Regions from separate parts of the Homo sapiens genome. Here all the other regions are linked to region 1. Evidence: promoter capture Hi-C in 16 types of primary human blood cells and fetal thymus (Javierre and others, 2016). All regions are on one chromosome and are shown on one strand. The core of a region is centred on a gene start or on the middle of the fragment in contact, and the rest is flanking DNA. Distances in the headings are between cores, read along the strand shown.

Region 1 (3,898 bases), core at 1,399-3,898:
AGGGCCTGAGACAAGCTGGGTGACACCAGAGGACAGACAACTAGGCAGCAGGTTCCTGCAGGGCTGAGAATCCTACCAGACATAGCAACAGGTTCCAGCAGCCCCTGCTGTCAGGGCTCCTGGGTGGGGACTTGGTGAAGAAGGGGACCTGGGCACAAACCTAGAGGAGAGCTAAGTGAGGCAAGAGTCTTGGAGCTCAGGTGTCCTGGTGGGGCTGGCACCAGCCCGGAGCAAGGTGGGGCATTAAACTGTTTGACAGTGAGGCAGGTGGGTGGGGAGGGCAGCAGGTACACTGTGTACCGGAGCTTCTAGGCAGGTTTCAAAGTAGACTCTCAGCCTGTCTTTACAAATAACGCCATTCAGTCATTCATTCATTCAGTCAGCCAGCCAGCCAGCCAGCCAGGCAGTCGGTCTATAAATGCCAGTCACCAAGCAGCTTCTGCACGCCAGGCACTGTGTGAGGATGGAGATGGATAGGGACCAATGGCTGCATGGACACAGTGGGAGGCTGACCTTGGCCTCAGGTTCACTGGCTGTGGAGCCAGCAGGTGCTCCACAAACATTTAGGTGTGTGTTTGGGTAAAGGAGGGGTTAGATGAGGAGGAGGAACCATCTGAACACCTGAGTTTTAAGGATGATTTGGATTTTCCAAAGGCCACACCTAGTAACAGTTTGTGTTTTGAGTGCAGCTCTGAATCAGAGACCTCAGTTTTATGGCAATTGCCTATGGAAAGATTGAGGGAACCCCTGTTCTTGTGTCCCCAGGAAAGAGAAGTTCCTTGGCAGGGCAGAATCTGACCATCGTGGAGTGAAGGCAAGCATGTGCAGGTGCTCAGGGGCTTATCACCTACTGCCTCCCCCAGTGCCTTCACCTCAGCTGTGTCACGATGTCACTCTGAGAGCTCCCCTAGAGCGAAAGCAACTCAGGATAGAAGCAGACATTTTAGTTTTGGCTTTTCCCTTCCTTTCTCCGACCCTGGTGCCCTGAGTAATGATAAACTGAACCTTATTTCCACCTATTCTAATTCATGCCCTTCTTACTTTAGCAGAGCTAGAAACACCCACTGTTTAGAGCCACTCAAATATTAAGCATCTTTATTTCTACTTAAAGGGATTTATCTTAGCACCGATTAAGGCTTACCCACAAGGCAAGGCTCTTTCTGTGTCCTCACGCTGTCACTCCTAAAACTTTCCAGAACTACAAGTGACCCAGCTCTCAGTCAGGAAGGGCTCCCCTTTCCACCTCTAATCAATTTTCTGCCTGGGCTTAATTTCCTCCATAGACATTAGGGAGTCACAAGGAATTAAAACAAAGGAGAACACAGGATTTCTGTGTAAAATTCTTTTCTTCCTAGGGTTTGTTTTTTTGACCTTGGTGAGTTATTTCACCTCTGGTGGCCTCAGATTCCCCAATCATCCCTTGAGGAGTGTGAACTAAAGGCTCTCTGAGATCCATAATCTCAGTGGCTCTCAACTGTGCTCTGTCTCTTACCCTGGGGAGTTCATGATCTGTAGAGGAAAAGTGGGCTTCCTCATCAGAGAGCTCCTAGAATGACAGGCATGATGGGCATATGTTAGGCTCCCCACTGAGATTTGTTGAATAAATGAGGAAATAAACACTGTGGTGGGGACACCGTTGCTTTAAGCAGGAACAGCTCTGACCCTCGGAAAGCCCCCAGGAGATACAGACCCAGAAGGAGGAGGAAAACCTTGCAGCCAGCAGGATCTCTAGGTATTGGGGCTGGAGCTGGCAGTGGGCAAAAGTGGAGAAGGATTCAGCATTGAGGACCCCATGGATGGGCTGCAGGGAGGCAGGTAGAAAAGGCTTTTGGGTTTTCAGGTGGGGGGCAGTCTAGCCTGATCAGAAAGGAGGAAAAGGCCAGGGCCAGATGTCTGGGTGGAGTGAAGGGAAAAAGTGATCCCAGAAGAAGGATTAGCCCCTGAAAGTCCCTGAAGTAGGAGAAGGGTAAAGGTGTGGTTGGTGAAGGAAAGCAGGTTTTCCCAGATTAGCAACCAGTCAGGGGGAGGAAGGTGAGAGTGGGAGAGTCATAAGTAAATTATTCTGAATGTGTGTAGTTTAATGGAATTGGGAAAAAGATGGGGGAAATGGATGGAAGGGTCTTGGACTCTGAGACAAGGGGTCTATAATCAGTCCATTTCATTATTTCTAGCTTCCACCTTCACCAAGGCAGACAAGGAGGGCCCACCTCAGCTCCTCTGCTCCCCCTCCCTTTCCCACCTATTCATGTGTGCAAGAGTGCCCTGTCCCACAGAACACGGGGAACAACCATCTCAATGACAAGGACAGCAGGTGGCAAGGCCTCAACAGGACTCAGATGTCCCCCCAGGGTTAACTCATGAAACCCTCCATGAAGCCTGCTGCTCACCCCTCCCTCAAGGCAAGCCCTGCACCTGGGTCTGAGGATGAGGGTGGCAGTGAAAATTAGGCCAGTGACATCATTTTCAGCCAGCCAGTGCCAAAAAATATCAGGTGGTGTTCATCAAAAAAGCTGAGCCAACCGGTGATGAGGATGGTAGTGTGAGTCATGTGTGACAGGTGAGGAATGAAAACAGAGTGCCCGAGAGCTTCTATTTCCTTGAGGCAGGGCTCATTCATCTTATAAAAGCCAGCTGGCCATTGCCTTCACACCAAACCCAAGGGACCACACAGCCCATTCTGCTCCGTATACCAGGTAAGTCTCTGATTGCAACAAACTGGCAATTCTAGTGTACTTTTTCATTATTAGAAATTAGCTAAAGGCAAATATGTGTAAGCAGGTTAATCCAGGGTTTCAATGGGAGATAGAGAATAGTGGAATATCTTTATTTTAAGTTAAATTACAGTCTGGATTTGAAAGGACCTTAGAGATGGTTAGGGCTCCCACCTCAGTAGATAGTCATTGAACTGGGAGTCCTGGAGAAGATTGTTCAAATGCCCATGGGAAGTTCATAGCAGAACTAGAACTCAGGCCCAGAGCACTCTCAGTAACACTGCAATTTCCCCCTGACAAGATATTTATAGAAATTTTAATTTATTAGATGGATCTCTACTGAGCATTTATTCCATTTAAGGCAGTATGCTAGGCACTTTGGACAAATCAATGCCTAACGTACTTACTTAACAAACATAAAACCTAGCAGGAAGGTAATACATATATATAAATAAATGAAATGCAAAGTAGATAGTAATTGGCATGACGGAGATGGGCAGAGAAGGGCTGTGCACTTTTGGGAGACCTTGCTCAAGGAGACCCTCCTAGGGGTGTCAAGTGATGTGAGCTATGATGGAGGGGTATTTGGACAAGCAGAGATGGGAAGAAAAGCATTTGGAAGGGACTGTGTAAGCACAGACCAGAAGCAAAACCATAGAGGCTTAGATGAATATAAAGCCATCCTATAAGTCACAGGCTTTCTACATGGTACTAGGAGAGGAAAGTGGTCTGATGCCATTTTCCAAAAGACCTAATATGCGGACCTCATGTCCCTCAGAAGCCAGCTTTAGTAGGGCATTTTTCCAGAACAGATATAAGTTGCCTTGGGTAGGAAGGGAGCCAAGAAGAGAACTCCAATAAAATGGAGCAGAAGAAATTGCCTTTTAGCTCCTCCTCTTCAAAGGGCCTGAAAATTATCCAAGCTTATTTCATTTTTAAATGTAATGGGGGAGTTAAGGGAGATGAAAGGCTTTCTCTTCTAAAGGGTCCTGAAATAAAATCTGTTTGGCATTGAATTTGTATCCATCTTTCTTTAATTGAATCACTGTGTCAGCTTTCTGTCTCTAGAAAAAAACACATTTGAAGCATGAATTCTCAGCAGCAGAAGCAGCCTTGCACCCCACCCCCTCAGCCTCAGCAGCAGCAGGTGAAACAACCTTGCCAGCCTCCACCCCAGGAACCATGCA
Region 2 (3,898 bases), core at 693-3,192, 57 kb after region 1:
TGATTTATATTCCTTTGGGTATATACCCAATAGTGAGACTGCTGGGTCAAATAATAGTTCTGTTTTAATGATGATGTACTGCTGCTAATAGACTACTATCAAATGAGTAGTAATGATATGTCAGAAATTGTGTCAACTGAATTCCTGATATTAATTCCATTTTATGCCTAAGATAAGTTAGTGATATAAATATTATTTTCCACATTTTAAAATGAAGAGATTAAAATTCTGATTGATTTGTTCTTCAAATCAATCAAACACTAATTAAGGAAAATAAAAGGGGTTTAAAATGATATAAAAATAATCATTGTTATGGCCCAAAATTCAGATAACAATAATTGTGAAATCCTGGTCCTGGGGATCAGAGAAAGGTAGAACAAAATCCAAATAATCATATAATATTACTAATAAAGCAGATTCTAAAAGAAACAAAAGATCCATTCACAAATATATATGCATAGATACTTTATTCAGGGAGTGAAAGATAAATGACAATTGCAAAGGTGGTAGAAGCTCATGACCAGGTGACAGACAGACACAGAACACATCAACAGAATTGTCTGATGGTTCCCAGGGAGAGAGCTGCTGCTCTTTCTTCCGAAGCTCTGGGAGCTGGCACAGCTGAGGACTTCCTTTTCTTAGCTCCACCTGGACAGTGGCAGTATGGCAGCCTCAGAAAGGGAATCTTTTGCTGTCACAGATCATCACAGGCAGGCCACAGGTTAAGGAGAAAGAAGCTCCCTGTGCATCCATGGAAGGCTTTGGTGAGAAGATGCAAGTGGAGCTGTGGAACGAGGTGAGCCAATTATCCTTATCCTCTCATGCTCCTGATGAATCCTGAAGCTGTTACTTGCTCTTGGGTGGACACTTTGGCTGGCAGGGTGGGGAAGGTGTCACAGGAGGATATTTCTGCTGGCACTGCTGAGGTGGGCAGGGCTGTGGACACTTTGGTGATGGGCAGGGCTCAGGGCACTTCGGGGGTGGACATGGCTCTGGGCACTTTGGCGTGGGGCACACAGGAGGTGGCTGGCAGGGCTGCTTGCACTGCTGCTGTTGATAAGACATCCTGCTGGAGTCTCAGGATCTGAAAGAAATGATACAACAGTGTTTGTGGGAAGGGACTCCTCCAGAGAGAGAAGCTAATGCTTATGTAATACCATGAAATATTATTTCCCCATCTCCAAGAAATTATTTAAACTCTTAACTGCCTTTTCAAGACTACTTCGTTTCTCCCTTCCACTTTAGCAAATTGCTTCATTGGCCCTGGGAAATCTTGTGTTTTCTCATACAATTTTTCCAAAGAAAATATCTCTGTAGTAATGAACCAAGCATGTTATTTCTGTGAAAATAACATCTTTAGGAAAGGCAGTGACAAGTTCAGATACCATGAGCAATCTCACAAGCCATTTCTCTTATCATTATCTGTAGTAAAGTCCCAGTGGGTTGACTTGAGCACAGAACAAAGGGCTGTTTGGGAAGGATTGCAGGCTCTTGGCACCTGTTAAGACACAAACCTTTGAAAAAGACACCAGGAAAACATGGGGAAAAAATACTTTGTTCTTTTTTCTTCTTCAATTCAAAGCTTTCCTATTAACTTCTCTGTCCGTATGGACACCTAACTGTATACAAGAAACAAGCTAAAATAGCATATCACTGTACTCTAAATCTAAATTTCCATCTACTAAGTAGAATCAAACCCATGGTTACAGAATTGTATCAACCAAACTTGCTGTTTTCAGATTAAATTCAATATTTCAGGTCACAAAGAACTGAGGAACTCAAGGACTCACACTCACCAGGTTCTCCAAAGCAGATCGGTGCTAGAGTACCAGGAGTTTAAGAGTTGTGCAGCAGGGAACCTCTTTATAGGACGTTCTGCCCCACCCAGTGGGAAGTGGAACTGCCTAAAACTGGGCTGGTCCAGCAATGTCCAAAGTAAAATGCAAATGTATCCATATCTGGCATGAGAGGCATTCTCAAACTAGGAAATATCCTGTTCTGGGATCTCCCCACTGGGTTAAGTGCTCATGAGTCACAGAGAACCTGCCTTAGATCTCAGTTTCAGTGACTTTCGTCAGAGAGATAATTGGAGGGATTCTCTAACCGGTTGTCAAGGGCTCTCTTTCTTGATTGGGAACAATGATCCCTTCCTATCTTACCTCCCCTGAGTCATAAAACTTCCTGTCCTGATCCACTCTAGCTGAATGCCATATTGTTGTACATGAACCCAACTCTACCTCTACTTTCCTCATACAGTTGGCCAATGTGCTAGAAGGAAGGAGAGACTTAACAAAGGCCTGAGCTAAGCTTTTTCTTTGCTAAGTTCCATGACAACAGGCATGTCACCTCTCCTCCCTGGGATTATAAACAGGGGACAATAATACTTACCTCTGGGTTTGCAGGCTGACCACATTGTGCTATCTGCTGACCCTGTTCAAGACTGAAATTTTCTTTGCCACCTTTTTCTCAGATAAAACCTCAGATTTTTACCTATATTCCTTTCCTCTTTGAAGCTGTCTTCTGCACCACATTTGTAGCTTCTGCACCACATTCGTAGAGGCACTTGCATCCCAGGACAGATTTGAGAGTGAGATCTAGTCTCCACAGCACGTTTGCTACTTGGTGCCATCAAGGATGTGTACTACAGCCTTTTTATTTATAAAAAGTAATGGAGAGAAGGAAACTAAAGTTACAAGTATTGACTCAAAATCTATGTATGGAACCATGCATATATGGTTCCCTGTGAACATCCTATAGAGAACAAGCTGCATAGACATTATCATATGTAAATAATTAGAAGTAGGTGTGCAGAGTGAGGAAGGTAAGAGCACTTAAAGTTTAACTCAAGGGGAAAATACAAACAAAGGGTAATCCAATATGTATTCTTCCTCTCTATTTCCAAACAGGTTTTAGATGTTTCTCAGTGTTTTTTAATTTGTTTGCATGTTCTTCCTTTGTCTTTTCCATAAACCTTCTAGTCCCACAAACTGCTAGATTATCAACTCATACCCAATGTATACCTGTCATCTGTCCATTTTGGTACATATTGTTCACTTAACACATATGTTGTCAATGCATTTAGTGATTGTCCTTTCACAACTTTTTTAAATGCTTCCTACAATCAGTGAGCCTTTCTAAGTACTGTATATTAAACATTTAAAGTGATGTTGCTACTGCTTCCTTATCTGGACCATTAATCGGGAAGCTTCCCAAGAACATGGTTTTATAAGTGAATAAGAAGAAAGGAGAATGAGGAAGAGGAAAGACTCAAAATCACTGGAGCAGTCACCAACTGTGCTCCAGGAAGGGCAGAGTGTTGAATCAAGCCAGCATCACATCCCTCAGTTAAGTAGGTTAGGTTCCCAGAACAGCTGTTGCTCCTGTCAGTAAGGAAGAGCTTTTAGCCAAGATCACCACTGGCCAGGACACTACAGAAATAGAGCCATCATGTCAGCACCCTGAGGCCAGGTGATTACAAATGGTGTTCTCACCAAATGCTTCCTATAGACTATTACACATGCCACGCACTTCACCAGCCAAAGTAAAAGTCCTTTACTCAATAAATCACCCACTACTCCCCAAGAGCCTCACATCACATCTAAAACATAAATCCATAGAGAAATGTCTAATTTCTGCCATGCAAAATTGAAGAATTCGCTGCCAAATGAGATCACTGTGTGAGATAACACAGTTTGGGTCACAACCTGAGACTCCCCTTCTTAGGACACCCCACTCAAACAGGCTGCTTATCACAGCAGTGCAGGCACCAGAGTGGCAGCAGACCTAGTGCCCCCAGCATCTCAGACAGGCTGACTTTACAAGTTGACGTGGAGAACTGGAAACTCAGAGTTCCTCACAGACCAGCTACATGAGGAATGGCCATAACATGAAGAGGGAC
Region 3 (3,898 bases), core at 449-2,948, 37 kb before region 1:
CGGTTTCCACACCTGTGTCTTCTAGTGATGCAGCATGACTCCCCAAGGTCTTGGGATGTTCTAAGGCTTTTATTAAATAGTGGAACCATGGCTAAATTTCATGGCTGAGATTTAAAATGTGCCATCTTCAGGACTAGCTTGCCTATTTCCATTTCTCTCACTCAAAAGTCTTTTTTAATGTATTTTTAGGGGAAAAGTAAAAATTATATATATGTACAGTGTACAATGTGATGTTTTGATATATGAATATATTGTGGGATGACTAAATCAAGCTATTTAATACATGTATTACCTCACATATGTATCATTTTTGTGTGGCGAAAACACTTAAAATCTACTCATTTAGCAATTTTCATGTCACATATTGTTATTAACTATAGTCAACATGACTTCCAGTGGATTCCTTGAACTTATTCCTCCTGTCTCTTTCAACCAAGAGCTTATGACACTGGGTGGCAAGTGCCACTACTTGCCTCCAACTTTTTTCAACTTCCTATTCCATATTTCTAAGAGTGTGTCTTGCCCTAGTATTCAAAGCCCATCTCCATGGAGCACCCAACGACTGTTGACCATGCATTTTGTGCCAAACACTTGCACATACTTTAAATAAGTTGTCCATTTTAATCCTTACAACTGACATGCAGAATGGTGCTGTTACCCTCTTTAGCAGGTGAGAAAATTGAAGTGCAAAAACATCTGGTTCCTAAGGTCACCCAACTGGTAAAAGGCAGAGCCTCAGTCTGAGCACCACTTGGGAATTTTTTAAAGATGAGCTCCATCCTTTGCCAGGTATGGGAAGCATCCAAGTCTGTATCCCGTGCCACCCTTCTTTGTCCTGGAACTTCTAACAGAAGTTAGGAGGAAGAGCCAGGACTGGGGCCCCAGGAGCTCAGAACCCAGAATCCAGTCACTGTGACTCCTCCATGAGCTCACTCTAATGCAATGCTTCTTAGCTTCCCCCACCCCCTCCACCTTATGATAATCATTTCCCTGGGAACCCTGGAGTCATATGGATATGTGATATATGTAGGGAGATTTAGAGATAAGCACTATCTACTGTAACCAACCAGTTTCCCCGAATGGGGCCTAACGATTTTCCCAATAGCAGAACAGACAGAGAGTGGCAGCTGCCATTTCTTGTATAAATAACAATAGGTAAAAAATGAAAGCCTCTTGTCTTGTCTTCCCACCAGTTCAAGCTGAATGTGACTCTGAGCCTAGGTCAAGTCAAAGTCACAACTTTGCTGAGGGTGGTGGGTTTCCAAGAGAGCCATCTGCCCCCTCAGCTGTTTTCTTATGTTACCTGCATAAGCTGCCTGTCCCATCCCCTCCTCTCTGCCAACCAGAACATCCCAGAACACTGCCCTCACACCCCCACACCCAGCATGGTCGGAATGCTTGCTTGGGACCATCCTAGATGCCAGGGATCTAAGTCAAAAGTCATGAGTGGGTTTGGAAATCCAAGGAAGCCAGTCCTCGTAAAATGATGGGGAGATGAGGCAAGGGGAGGGTGAAGGCACTGTCATCTCCAAATCCCGCCATACCAGCCCTGGGGGTGAGTAAAACTTAAAATTTGAGGAAGGACAGGTGGATCCTATTGTGACTAGGGACTAATTAGGACACCCCAATCCTGGGCCACCTCATGGCCTCAGGCAGGGATGAGAGGTATATAAAAGGTAGATAGGCTCAGAGCATCCCAAACCCCTCCACACCTATCTGCTCCAGTCGCTGGTGAACCTTGGTAAGTCTGGAAAGGTAGTACCTCTTATAGCAGCCTTGCCTTGCCTGCATCCCTAACCAACTATGGACTGGGCTGATTCTCTGGGTGGTGGTCAGAAAGGATGGGTCTTTTGGGGTACCTCTTTTTTCCATATCATTTGTGACAAACCTATCTTGGGTCCAGCAAGTTATCCAGCAGAGTAGTGTGGGAGGCTGGGCTGAGCAGGGAGAAGGAGGGGGGTATCTACAAGAGGGTCAGTATCTCAGCGATGCTGCTGGCATGGTGTGGGTGTTGCATCTTGTCAGGTGCTAAGAGGGAATTAGTAGGAGAGGAGAGACCAGTTCTGGGCAGAGCAACTGGAAGGACTGTCCTTTCAAAGAAAAGAGAAGGCAGGAAGGAAAGAGAACAGACTCCCTTGGGACAGCAGAGTTGTGGATGTCCATGGAGCAAAGGGCTGCAGGGACAAGACGATGTGGCACCATGGAAGGCTCTGCTCTGGGAATCAGGAGACCTCTTTTCCCACCATCTATGCCGAGTGGCTTTGAAGCCATTCCTTCCCTCTGAGGTTTGCTTTCCTCAACTGTAATTGAGAGAGGCAAGCTAGATAGTCCATTTCATCTATCTCTAGAGTTTTCTCTTTATAAACTCCTTTAGAGAGTGGTTAAGATGCGCCTTTTAAATTGTTTATGAATTTACTTAACAAATTACAACTCTTATATAGTGTTCATTTTGTGCTACTACTCTGCATGTGTGTGTCGGTACATACATACCTACGTATGCATGCATATTTTAAGTATGTATTTTATATACTCATTTAATTTTTGCACCAACTCTAAGAGAGGTAAGTATGGAAAACCTTAGTTGCTCAAAATCATATAGTTAATAAATGATTTAGCCAGAACTCAGATCCCAGGCAATTTATTCCAGATGCCACAGGTTTTGCTATAATAGGATACAACAGTCTGCTCTTTCATTCTTCCTCTTTTTTTTCCTCTCTCTCCCTTTTCTTTTTTTATGTTTTTCTTTCTTTTCAACCCCTCCTAACATTTCTGTTTTCCCTCCCTTCCTCCTTTCCTATCTTTCCTTCCTTCCATGTTTCTTTGTCTTGAAAAGAGTTGAAATAACTTGTAAACACTTAAAGTTTACACATGCGCGCGCGCACACACACACACACACTCCTCTTAAATCTGTGAAGGGATCAGGGCAAGGTAAAAGCAGAGCAGGACAGGAATGTGGCAGGGGGTTCACCTGGGCTTAGGGTCTCTCTATGGCTCAAGTGTTCCTCATTTCTGTGTCTTTCTGTTTCCAGTTGCAAGTCCAGCCCAGAATGTCTCAGCAGAAGCAGAAGCAGTGTGCTCCCCCGCAGCAGTGCTGCCCCCCACCCCAGCAGCGCTGCCCCCCACCCCAGCAGTGCTGCCCCCCGCCTCAACAGTGCTGCCCCCCACCCCAGCAGTGCTGCCCGCCGCCTCAACAATGCTGCCCCCCTCCCCAGCAGTGCTGTCCCCCACCCCAGCAGTGCTGCCCTCCACCTCAGCAGTACTGCCCCCCACCCCAACAGACCAAGCAGCCTTGCCAGCCCCCACCCAAGTGCCAGGAGCCCTGTGCCCCCAAGTGCCCACCCCCTCAGCAGTGCCAGACGTCCAAGCAGAAGTAAGCCCTGGGCATGTGATCAGAGGCGAACCCCCAGGAAAAACAGAGCATGAAGTTCCTTCTGGGCCAGCATCTTACACTCCACAGGCCAAGCAAAGCCCTGCTCACCAGTGCTTCTGGATGCAGCCACACTTCACACTTGCAGGAGAGGCAGCACCAGGCTGGCAGCTGGCGGCTTCCTCGAGCTCTACTCTTCTTAATTAGCAGCTGCAGTTTCCATCTCAGACAAGGATCTGGTTCTAAACTATCTAATCATCTTTCCTGACATGCATCTACATTGCCCTGCTGGAAACATGAGCGGCATGCACAGGCATCTTCTCCTACCACGCTTCCCCTCAGCTCCTGTTTTCAAACAATTAAAACAGAATTCCTCTGGCATGAATGTCTTGGTCTGATGATTTTGTTGTTTGAAAATGTAGCATTTCTGCAGTTTTTTTTTTTTTTTTTTTTTTTTGACGGAGTCTCGCTCTGTTGCCCAGGCTGGAGTGCAGTGGCGCGATCTCGGCTCACTGCTATCTCCGCCTCCCG

Evidence for each region. Contacts are between HindIII fragments. The CHiCAGO score rates a contact against its expected background, and 5 or more counts as called.
Region 2: a fragment that was not itself captured here is called in contact with the fragment with the promoter of SPRR1A in region 1 in 1 of 17 cell types (naive CD8 T cells); the score reaches 5.0 in naive CD8 T cells.
Region 3: a contact is called between the fragment with the promoter of SPRR5 here and the fragment with the promoter of SPRR1A in region 1, in 1 of 17 cell types (naive CD8 T cells). The highest score is 5.3, in naive CD8 T cells.

What each region holds. Positions count from the first base shown.
Region 1 is chr1:152,981,433-152,985,330 of GRCh38, forward strand. SPRR1A (small proline rich protein 1A) reads left to right here and starts at 2,649. Exons shown (of 2, transcript NM_005987.4): 1 at 2,649-2,693; 2 at 3,780-3,898. The coding sequence starts at 3,799. The HindIII fragment of the contact is 3,855 bases long and covers 1-3,632 here.
Region 2 is chr1:153,039,282-153,043,179 of GRCh38, forward strand. SPRR2D (small proline rich protein 2D) reads right to left here and starts at 1,839. Exons shown (of 2, transcript NM_006945.5): 1 at 1,797-1,839; 2 at 451-1,084. The coding sequence starts at 1,065. The coding sequence ends at 847. The HindIII fragment of the contact is 725 bases long and covers 1,581-2,305 here.
Region 3 is chr1:152,945,508-152,949,405 of GRCh38, forward strand. It overlaps SPRR5 (small proline rich protein 5), which reads left to right and starts at 1,699. Exons shown (of 2, transcript NM_001395435.1): 1 at 1,699-1,741; 2 at 3,030-3,748. The coding sequence starts at 3,048. The coding sequence ends at 3,374. LINC01527 (long intergenic non-protein coding RNA 1527) reads right to left here and starts at 3,703. Exons shown (of 2, transcript NR_183723.1): 1 at 3,479-3,703. The HindIII fragment of the contact is 11,414 bases long and covers 1-3,898 here.